Regions from separate parts of the Homo sapiens genome. Here all the other regions are linked to region 3. The links are contacts of gene promoters, found by promoter capture Hi-C in human tissues and cell types (Jung and others, 2019). All regions are on one chromosome and are shown on one strand. The core of a region is centred on a gene start or on the middle of the fragment in contact, and the rest is flanking DNA. Distances in the headings are between cores, read along the strand shown. Region 1 has its middle 8.1 kb from the start of MIR7846. Region 2 has its middle 21 kb from the start of UBIAD1. Region 3 holds the start of C1orf167 (chromosome 1 open reading frame 167).

The links. Contacts are between HindIII fragments. The study calls those that stand out against the background at their distance.
Region 1: a contact is called between a fragment that was not itself captured here and the fragment with the promoter of C1orf167 in region 3, in 1 of the 25 tissues and cell types used here (spleen).
Region 2: a contact is called between a fragment that was not itself captured here and the fragment with the promoter of C1orf167 in region 3, in 1 of the 25 tissues and cell types used here (mesendoderm cells).

The regions. Positions count from the first base shown.
Region 1 is chr1:12,156,990-12,160,744 of GRCh38, forward strand. No RefSeq gene overlaps it. Among named protein-coding and RNA genes, the nearest start is that of MIR7846, 8.1 kb to the right of the region's middle. The HindIII fragment of the contact is 9,635 bases long and covers 1-3,755 here.
Region 2 is chr1:11,292,478-11,296,213 of GRCh38, forward strand. It overlaps a transcript of UBIAD1 not described here. Among named protein-coding and RNA genes, the nearest start is that of UBIAD1, 21 kb to the left of the region's middle. The HindIII fragment of the contact is 6,178 bases long and covers 1-3,736 here.
Region 3 is chr1:11,760,771-11,764,650 of GRCh38, forward strand. It overlaps C1orf167 (chromosome 1 open reading frame 167), which reads left to right and starts at 1,423. Exons shown (of 21, transcript NM_001010881.2): 1 at 1,423-1,535; 2 at 3,561-3,700. The coding sequence starts at 3,631. It also overlaps the pseudogene LOC101060126. The HindIII fragment of the contact is 8,265 bases long and covers 1-3,880 here.

The sequences.
Region 1 (3,755 bases), core at 1,166-3,665, 400 kb after region 3:
TTAGGAAAAACTGGCTCACTCTATGGACAGAAATAAAGGTTAGTCTCCAGACTTTATACTCCATATACAGTCTCAGTGTATTAAAGACCTAGACATGAGATGGAAAATTATAAAGCTAATGAAAGAAAAATATAAAAAAGTATCTTCATAACCTATGAGTAGCTCTACCTATAGGTCATGATGATACTTTTCTATATTTTCTTTCATTACCCATAAGTAGGGAATTCAAATGCAATTCAAATGGCGAAACATTGATGGATTCCATTGCATTAAAATTAAGAATTTTTTTGCCAACAATAAAGGACACCATCAGCAAGGATACCAAATAGGCGACAGAGTGGAGGAAGTATTTGTGATATCTAAAAATGACAAGGGATTGATATCTAGCGCATGCAAGGAATTATTGCAAAGCTACAAGAAAAAGACAGGAAATAATAGAAATATGGTCAAAGGATGTGAATAGGCAGTTCACAGAAGGGAAAACCCAAATGACTAACAAGTAATGAAGAGGTGCTCAAACCCACGGATATTCAGAGAAATGCAAATGAAATGACACCGGGCTCCACTTCACACCCATCAGATCGGCCCAAATCAGAACATTGGCTAATCACGAGTGTGGGGGCAAGAGAGTGGTAGAAACCCTATAGTCCTGACAGTGGTGGCATCACTGGGGTGGTCATCCTGGAGAAATTCTCTCTTTTCTTTTTTAAAAACCAGCTTCTACATCAAGAACACAGTCCTGGAGAAATTTCTGGCAGTGTTAGTGAAATAGGTAAACAAATACTCCCCGATCCAGCAGTCCTACTCCAGAGAAATTCAAACACCTGCAAACGCCACCACATGTTTTATAAGGACACACTGATTGTTGGAGAGGTGCAGAGGAGGATGAGAACAGGGATTGAGGAAAAAAATCAGGCCAGAGAGGAACCTTGTACAGCAAGATCTGTGCAGTATGATTCACTCAACTCTCTGTACCTGAGGTCCAAAATATGAGAGTGAGAGAGAAGTTACGAAAAAAAAAAAAAAAAAAAAGATTCCATTCAGACCCGCCCCCAAATTTTGAAATACCTAAGGTTTATTGACAAAAAAGAGGAAGGGGGTGGGAGGAGGAGGGACCAGATGAGGGGAATCACGTTCCTCCCCAGGCCAGAGTGGCCTTGTTTGTAAAGAGGAAAAGAGGGGAACTCAGGGCCAGTGGGGAAACTGAGGCCAGAGTTCATAGGATATATGGTGGAAAGGCAGCTGTTGCTTATGTTTGAGACTTTGTCTAGAAAATTGTGGTCCACAGATGGCTCCAGCTGCTACTTGGAGAGACCAGTGAAATGGGGAGGTTTTGGTGGGGTGTGGGTTTTGGAAAGTGGGGGTTGGGGAAGGGGGACAGAGAGTGGGTTTGGAGGGGTTACGGGTTGGGAGTTAGAAGTGGAGAGACCAGGATCCTGGAAAGGGTAACACTCACTTGGCAGGGCCACGATGAGGCTGAAAGAATTGAAAAGAATTGAAAGGGAGAATTGAAAGCCCTTTGAAAATACAAAGGGCTGTAAAAGGAAACCCACTGACAAGATCAAACGCCCCCCGCCCCGCTGCAGATGTGGGGATTGGGACTCTCACACGCTGCTGGCAGGAGTGTCCAGGGTGCAGCCCCCTGAGAGGAATTTGGCAGGGCCCCGTGAAAATGAAAACATGCAAACCCACGGCCTGCCACTGCCCAGCAGTTCTACTTTCCAGGTTTAAGACCTTGAGAAACATTCAACCTTGGGCATTGGGAGACAGATGCAGGAACGCGCATCTCAGTGTGTGCAGTGGAGCCAAAGTGCAAACACCCCAAAGGCCCATTCCAGGGGAGCGGGGCAGCAAGGTGTGAGACAGGCACCGGGCAGGCGCAGCACCGAGTAGCAGCAGCAGCAGGTAGAAACAATAAGCGGATCTGAACTCATCAATATGGAAAGTTCTCAGAAACACAGCCGAGGGGAAAAAAGCAAGGGGCAGGACGGCGCACCTGGTGTTTCATCGTTTGTGTAGATGTAGACGCGTGTATCTAGAATAACACTCTACATTGGTGTGTGGAAGCAGAAAACGGACTGGTGAGAAACACCACAAACCCAGAGGAATTGCTCTTTTGGGGGCTGAATCAAGGGGACTACAACTTTGGCTGGGTGTCAAGGATTTCCATTTGAATTATAAAAGTATTTGAAGCAAAAAATAATCAACATATGTTTACTGAGAGCCTACTATTTTTTTTTAAATATCTAATTGAAGGCCGGGCGAGGTGGCTCACGCCTGTAATCCCAGCACTTTGGGAGGCCGAGGCGGGCGGATCACGAGGTCAGGAGTTCGAGACCAGCCTGACCAACATGGTGAAACTCCGTCTCTACCTAAAAATACAAAAATTAGCCAGGCGTGGTGGCACATGCCTGTAATCCCAGCTACTCAGGAGGCTGAGGCAGGAGAATGGCTTGAACCTGGCAGGCGGAGGTTGCAGTGAGCCAAGATCGCGCCATTGCTCTCCAGCCTGGGCAATAGAGAGAGACTCCGTCTCAAAAAAAAAAAAAAAAAAATTGTCCAGGCATGGTGACACATGCCTGTAATCTCAGCTACTTGGGAGGCTGAGGCATGAGAATCACTTGAACCCAGGAGGCAGAGGTTGCAGTGAGCTGAGATCACACCACTGCACTCCAGCCTGGGCAACAGAGCGGGACTCCATCTCAAAAAAAAAAAAAAATTTATGTATATATATACACACACATTTTATATATATATATTTGATATCTGTGCAGCTTCTTAGCTGCTGGGGACCCAGCAGAGAGCAAAACAAAACAGACAAGTTCCCTGCCTTCATGGGAGAAACAGATGATAAACAGATCCAAAGAGAAATTATAACAACTGCTATTAAGAAAAGTAAAGTAGCTATTTTGGTTGGGGGCGGGGGGGCGGGGGCGGGGTGCCAGGGATGCCTCTCTGAGGATGTGGCATTTGAGCAGAGACTGATAAGGGGAAGTGAGTCATGCAGGTATCTGGAGGAAAGGTGATCCAGGCAGAGGGAACTGCCAGTGCGAAGGCCTCAAGGTGGGAGAATGCTTTGTGTGTTCCAGCAAGGGCGGCCGGGCCAGCGGGCTCAGGGAGGAGTGAGGGCAACCCTGGCTGTTACCACTGGTCAGTTCTGGGTAGTGGAATATGGATTTTTTATATGATGCTTTAATTTTTTTAATTTCTAAAAAAAAAAATCTAAACAAAGATAATGTAGGGTTAAAAAGGTTACTGCTGGGAGGCTGGGTGTAGTGGGGCCTGTAATCCCAGCACTTTTGGAGGCCTAGGTGGGTGGATCACTTGAGCTCAGAAGTTTGAGACTGGCCTGGGCAACATAGTGAAACCCTTCTCTACTATTAAAAATAATAAGATAAAGTGTAACTAGAAGAAAACTTAAAAAAAAAAAAAAAGGCTGGGCATGGTGGCTCATGCCTGTAATTCCAGCACTTTGGGAGGCTACTGAAGTGGGTGGATCACTTTTGAGCTCAGGAGTTTGAGACCAGCCTGGCCAACATGGCGAAACCCCGTCTCTGCTAAAGAAAATGCAAAAAATTAGCCAGGCATGGTGGTGGGCACCTGTAATCCCAGCTACTTGGGAGGCTGAGGCAGGAGAATCGCTTGAAGCTGGGGGAGGCGGAGGTTGCAGTGAGCCAAGATCAAGCCATTTCACTCCAGCCTGGGCGACAGATCGAAACTCTGTCTCAACAACAACAACAAAAAAGGCTGGGCAT
Region 2 (3,736 bases), core at 172-2,671, 470 kb before region 3:
AGGGTCTTCCAATCCTGTGATTCAGTTGTTCTGTTATTACGGGATAGTCTTTCAGACCTGCCCCACGGGTTGGGAGGACAGAGTACAAGAGCCGTGTTGACATTTCTTCTTGATGTCAGACTGTTGACTGTCTGGCCATCTTAACAGGAACAGCTGTGATTGATATTCTTTTTTTAAAAGATTTTATGTATACACACACACACACACACACACACACACACACACACACACACACTCACAGAGTTGATTTCACCTCGAAAGCCCTTGAAGTGAGAGGGATGACAGCTCCTCTCTGAGCCCTGCGGACCACTCTGCTGCTAATGGACTGTCAGCCTCTTTCATTATGGGCTCCAGACTGTGCAGGCTGGTGTAAAAGGAATGCCTCTGGCAAGAACCTGGCACTTGGGTTCCAGCCAGTTGACATTTGTGACCTGCCCTTCTTCAAACTGGGACAGCCCTCCCACTGTGAGTGACTAAGCTAGGATGGCAAATGGTGGTATAAACCAAGTTGGGTTCCTGCCTGAGGAGGGGGCAAAGGCTGAGTCTGGGCTCATCAGGAGGCTTGCAAACGGCTTCCTGGGGTCAGGGAAAGGCTGTAATTGCAAGGCACAGACTCACTTCAGAAGATGCTGGAGCTCTGGGAGGAACAGTGAGGGCTTTGATCACATGCTCCCAACCAGGCTGAGTGGGGTATCACAAGTTGGTCTGGGCGCTTCTATGATGTTAAGGGATCCCAAGGGGCAGGGCTCTGTGTGGTGTGATTCAAGGGGTCCTCCAAATTCCGCACTCCCACGGTCCTGCCATATCCTGGCCCCTGTCTCCCCCAGCTTGGCTTAGAATTGCCTCCCATTAGGATCACAAATGGGTTTAACAGGGAAGACAAAAGCATAGCATGTGTTACTCACCTATTATTTTGCCAACATGTTTATTGTCAATTTCTCCCAGTAAGTGGTAGGACTAGAGTATAAGGACCATGTTTTCTTTTCCAGCCCATCTCAGCACTAGCACAGTGCATGGTGCAACAGAGCAGGCAGTCAGTAACTGGTTGTTGAATGACTGAGTTACATGGGAAGGGCTGGGCCCTCCAGGGCTGACTGACAGGTGTGAGAGTTTGGACCACTGCATCACATCAGCTGTCAGTAAGGACAGGTGAGTTCCACTTGGGGTTGGGAGTAGAGGAGAACCATGGCAGTAACTTATTATTATTATTATTTTGAGATGGAGTTTTGCTCTTGTCACCCAGGCTGGAGTGCAATGGCACGATCTCGGCTCGCTGCAACCTCTGCCTCCTGAGTTCAAGCGATTCTCCTGCCTCAGCCTCCCAAGCAGCTGGGATTACAGGCACCCACCACCATGCCCAGCTAATTTTTGTATTTGTAGTAGAAACGGGATTTCACCATGTTGGCCAGGCTGGTTTCGAACTGATCTCAGGTGATCCACCTGCCTCAGCCTCCCAAAGTGCTTGGATTACAGGCATGAGCCACTGTGCCTGGCCCCATGGCAGTACTCTTAAGAGCTTTTAAGATCCAGCTCATATTCCTGGCACGTAGAAGTCTCTAAATAAATAAACGTTGGATGACTGGCCGAGGGAATGGCAGTAATAAAGCTGTCATTTGTTGAATGCTCACTATGGACCAGGCACTGTTCTGATGCTTAAATACATTCTTTTAGTGCTCATAACAACCCCACGAATTGGATATTAAGGTCTCTTTTTCATAAGAGAGGAAACTGAGGTTCAGGGAGATTATTAAACTTGTCTAGGGTCATCTGGCTAGTAAGTGATAGAACCATGATTCAAATCTTGCTCTAATTCAGTGCAAGTTCTTTTATTATTATTATTTTTAATTAAAAAATTGAGACAGGGTCTCATTATGTTGGCCAGGCTGGTCTCAAACTCCTGGCCTCAAGCAGTCTTACCTTGGCCTCCCAAAGCGTTGGGACTACAGGTGTGAGCCACCACACCCAGCCTTCACTACAAACTGCCCCTCATCTCTCTTGCCCTGCAGTTCCTTGCTTGTAAGGGACTCAATCCATTGGTCTGCCCTTAGCCGCTCCCAAGTGTGTGAGTGTTGGGGCCAGCTATAGGCCTACAGAGGTGGCCCATGTGCCAGTGCCACAGAGGTGGTTCCCATCAGGGTGGGATGGCTGCTTCCTGGCTGGTGGCATTCCTACCAACACCCCCAGGGGCCAGCTCTGTGGGGATAGTAACTAAGCTTGTTGGTCTAACCTACTCTGGCTGGCTGGGCGAAAGTTACAAGTCAAAGTCTGCCCATCCCCAGATAATGGAGAGTGGCTCCTGCCTACCCACGATGATGGAGGCGAAGGTTCAGTCTCAGGTTAAATTTATGCTCCTGTCCCCTCATCTGTCTGTCCTCATTCGTCTCGTCTCTTCCAGTCCTCATCTAGCCACTGAAGCAGAGTGCCCACATCAGGAGCAGCCAGTGCTCAAGCTCCCAGAAACTGCCTAGTGACCTGCCTTCTAGACCTGCCTCCTGAGAATGGGGCTGGCCACCTTCGAGGAGAGGGAAGTGAGCCCCTTCCTGCCTCGGGGTGGGCAGCATCTGGAGCTGACAATTGTATGCATGTTCAGGACACAGGATACTCAACTCTTCGGGTTCAGTGTGCTGTGTGGAGGGAGAGGAAGTTGACACACGTGAACCATAGAATAAACAACGACCACAGAACATCAAGGTAGAGATGGGGCTGCTGGGTATCAGGAAGGCTTCCAGGAAGAGGTGACAATGAGCGGCGATCAAGGTTTCTAGGAAGAGGTGGCCATAAGAGGTGACTGTTCCATGGAAACCGAGGTGCTGATGGACAGCTCAATTCCCCCAGCTGGAGAAAGCCCCCCTGTTGCTGCCTGAGAGAGTAAGACTCGAAGTTTTCCTTAATCAGCCTCTTTTGGCTGTGCAGTTAGACAACTGGAGCATTGAGGCAGGTGTGCCAAGGGCACTCTGACCACTGCCAAGGTCAAAGCCTTCTGCAGAATGAAAACTCCGACACTTCCTTGCTGAGAAACAAACAAGAGAGAATGGCGGGGCATTTAATCATCCACAGCTGCCAATACCTAATCAAGATGAATGGCCTGGAGAGACAAGGCCAGGGAAAGCATCCCGTGAAGCAGGAGCGCTGAGCCCAAGTCTCCTGCGAGTCAGGGGAGCCCCTCAGCCCTGGGCCACATTGAGGCCAAGGGAATACCAGGTGGGAGGCCCTCAGATTCAGGGGAAGTGCTGAGGGGGTCAGAGGTCACCATGGTCACCAATGAGGGCCTTCCAGCTGACACTTGCCTTGGCCAAAGACCTTTACTGAGAGCCTGCTCTGTCCCAGGAGGCAAGATAAACGAGGCACACCCCTGCCCTTTGAGGACACACAGTGAACTAATAGCAAAAGCTACATGCATACATTATCCTGCCACCTCAAGTGTCAACATAGACACTTGTCCCTAGAGATCCTTAAAGCCCCTCTGAAGGACAGGCCACTCACAGCCATGTGTGAGACATAGAGGCATAAAGGCTGTGGGGAAATGAGGGCAGAAGAGATGAACTTCTCCATGCCCCATTGTTCCAGACTGCGATCAATTCACTATCTATGACTAGATCTCCTCTGATGCCATCTGCAGGTGGCTGCAAGACCAGTCAATTTATTGAACAAGTATTATGTTACAGGCACTTGCTAAGCTCTGGGAGGTATCATGGTAAATGAGACCTTATCCCTGTCCTCAGGAAACTTACACTCT
Region 3 (3,880 bases), core at 173-2,672:
CCAAAGTGCTGGGATTACAGGCATGAGCCACCACATCCAGCCTTTTCTTTTCTTTTCTTTTTTTCTTTTTTTTTTTTTTTTTTTTTTGAGACAGAGTCTTGGTCTGTTGCTCAGGCTGGAGTGCAATGGCAGGATCTTGGCTCTCTGCAACCCTTGCCTCCCAGGTTCAAGTGATTCTCCTGCCTCAGCCTCCTGAGTAGCTGGGATTACAGGTGCCCGCCACCATGCCCGGCTAATTTTTGTATTTTTAGTAGAGACAGGGTTTCACCATGTTGGCCAGGCTGGTCTTGAACTCCTGATCTTGTGATCCGTCCACCTCAGCCTCCCAAAGTGCTGGGATTACAGGTGTGAGCCACTGTGCCTAGCCTTTCTTTCTTTCTTTCTTTTAACAAGAAATTTGTTATAGTTTTATTTTCCTTTGCATTTGCAAAATACTTAGGACCAACATGAAAAAGAAATACCTTCTATGGGGAAAAAAATGGCATTAAAAAGGAAGATGGGAAGGCTGAAAGGGATTTGTGCCTTAGTTGCAAGGAGCTGCAGCATCTCTGGTCCAAGGAATCAAAAAGATATTGGGAAGATATAACAGGAGGAAGAAGAATGTGAATTTACTGAGGGAGAGGGCCCCAAAGTGGGCCTTGAGGGGGAACTGGAGGCCCCGGAGTGGGTCTGGGTGGAGGGAGAGTCCCCCCCGGAAGCCATAGGGTGGGTGTTGGGGAGGGCCAGTGTATCCATGAGGCAGCATCGGTGGAGGAGGTCCACACATACCATGGAGGCATAGGACGTGAGTGACCCATGGGAGATCCAGACCGAGACCCCTTGGGGGACATGCTCATTGGAGGAGGTCCAGGATGAGGCATTCCAGGTGGTGATCAGGGTGGTGGCTGCCCCCCAGATCCTGGGGTCCCATCACGGGTGTGTCCTCAGCCATGAGGGCCATGGTTTGCCAGCTGCATCTGAGACATCCCTGGATGGGACATCGCACCTATTGGGAACGGGTGAGGATGTGAGTGTCCATGACCCGGATGTCCTGCCCCTGGGGTTCCTACCAGTGGGAGCCGGGGGCATGTCCTGCAGCCCCAAGAGGCATAGGTGGTGGGGACATGGCTGGGGGTATCCCAGATGTGCGGGGGCTCCAGGAGGCAGCTCTAGGTGCGGGAAGGAGCCAAGAGGAGGCACGCCTGGTGGAGGAAGCCCAGACCCCAGTGATGCTGCCACAGGATTCGGGGCAGAGGGTGGAGGAGGTTCCCGGGGACCTGATGGCCAAGAGAATGTCGCTCATCTTGCACGTGCAAAAGTTGCCCTGGGACCACGTGCCTTGCCTGCGGAGGACCCGGCAAAACCTGTACCAGGACGTCGGTGGCCACGCCCACGGCTCAGGGCTGGGCGGGGCCAAGCGCGGGGCAGCACGCTCTGCTCTCCGACGTCCCCTCCCGCCCGCGACCTGCCGACCTGCGGGGATCGTTAGCGGTCCCAGCCCCCGTCTAGATTCAAATCCGACTGGGTGAAGGAGGACCCGAGGAGGACCCACGCACGTGAGGGCAGATCCATGAGGGCAGGAAACTGACCTCAGACTCTTTTGGTGGCAAGAGGAGGGAGGCTGTGAGCCCCCTTAAGTGGACAGGGGTGGGGGTGGAGTGGGAGGGGGGAGTCTGAGGGAGACGGACGAGGAGCGGAGAAATGGACCGAAGAGCTCCGGCGTGAGGGGCAGGGGTGCAGGAAGGTCTCCTGTGGATTGAGCGGCCTCAAGTCAACTTGGGCAAGAGGGGATGGTGGGGTGTTCTTGGTTAGGAGTCTGCGCTGTGGAGCCAGCCCTGGGGTGCTCCCTCTGAGGCCTTGGGTGGGACAGGCCCTTCTAAGCTCCTGTCCTCATTTCTAAAACAGGGAACCTAAGTCCCAGGGCTGCAGTGCAGATTAAATGGCAGGACGCCTGCTGAAGGCTGCAAGGTGCCTAGCACGGTTGTCATTTATTCAATGTGCATTTACAAGCCCCTGCTGGGGGTCAGGCATTGTTCTATGGGCTGCAAATCCAGCAGGGAAACAAACAAACAAAAAAAACCAGCCTGCCCTCGTGTGGCTCCTAGGCCACTGGAGGGAGAAATACACTAATTTCTTCACTATGTTAGGTGGCCGCAAGTGCAGGGCAAAGAGAGTGAGGAGAGGCCAGGTTGCTGCAGTTGGAGAGACAGTGGGCAGGGAGGGCTCACTGTGATGTGGGAGGCAAGACTTGAAGGCAGAGGGGACAGCAGCACAGAGGCGCTGAGGTGAGGTCGTGTGTGCCATTTGGAGGAGCAGCCAGGGGGCTGGTGTGTGTGGAGGACAGTGGGCAAGGGGAAGAGGAATTGGGGAGGACCATAACTGGCAGCCAGATTTTAAAGACTTTGCGGGGCTGGGTGTGGTGGCTCACGCCTGTAATCCCAGCACTTTGGGAGGCCGAGGCGGGCCAATCACCTGAGGTCAGGAGTTCGAGACCATCCTGGCCATCATGGTGAAACCCTGTCTCTACCAAAAAATAGAAAAATTAGTCTGGCGTGGTGGCATGTGCCTGTGGTTCCAGCTTGTTAGAGGCTGAGGTGGGAGGATCCCTTGAGCCCAGGGAGGCAGGCGGAGGTTGCAGTGAGCCGGGATCACGCCATTGTACCAGCCTGGGTGGCAAAGTGAGACTCCGGCTCAAAAAAAAAAAAAAAAAGGTTTTGCAGCCTAAGGTATCTTGCAGCTATTGAGCTCTGCTATTGCAGCTGGAAAGCAGACAGTCTGTAAACAAATGGGCTTTGTTTCAATATAACTTTATTCACATAATAGACCACTGGCCCAGGCAGTAATTTGCTAACCTCTGGCCTACAGCCTTGAAGGCTCACGGGGCATTGAGGGGGCTGGAGAGCTTCTGTGGCATTAGAGTTGAGGCAGGGCATGATTTGATTTCAGTGTTTACAGGATCACCCTGCCGCCGCATGAAGAGGAGGCTGTCGGGCGTGAGGACGAGGCAGAATAAGGGTGACCAGTTGGGAGGTGGCAGGTGAGGGCCACTCCGCCCAGTGCTCCAGGGGTCAGATCCTGGATGCGTGTGGGAGGCAGAGCCTGTCAGAGCAGCCACTGGTGTGAGGGAGAAGGGGAATCGGGGTGGCTCCAGGATTTTTGTTTGAGCCACCAGAAGGCCGGAGCTGCCATCCGTGGAAAAGGGGGGCACCAAGATGGGAGAGAGCTGGTTGCGAGGACGGCTGGAGTTCAGTTTTGGACATATTAATGCTGAGATGCCTGTTAGACATCCGGGTAGGCGTGGAGGAGGTCGCTGGACCTGCATGTTCAGACCTGTATGCAGATCAGCCGAGAGGTCTGGGGGGCAGGATGGGGCAGCATTTGACCTGGACACTTAATATGGAAAGGGGGGTGATAAGTAGGGCAGGGAGAGGAGCCACTGAGAGACCAGAACAGTGAGGGGCAGGCCCCAGGCAGCTGGGACCAGGCCAAGAGCAGCTAGGAGTACTGCTAAAGGGAGGAGGTAGGGATCAGAATGGGGTGGGGTTGAATGAGAGCCAGGGCAACCTGTCCTCTCCCCGCAGGGCCCATCTGATTAAACAGACCAGGCCACTCACTGTGGAGTGGACCAAGGATACTCCTGTCCCTGAGCCCATGGAGCTAAGGTCTGATGCCAGCCACAAGGAGAATGTGTCCCCAAAGCCTGCAGCGCTCCCGAAGCCAGGCAAGAGGCTTAGTGGGCCTGGATGGGCAGTTACAGGAGCAGGGCCCTCTCTAGGTATTGGCCCAGAGCCCCCCTCCCAGGCAGGCCAGCCTATAGGGCCTGGCTAATTCCAGAGATCAGCCACCCACGGTCGGCTGGACATAGGACAGAGTCTTCCCAGCCTGGGGCCTAAGGAGGGGG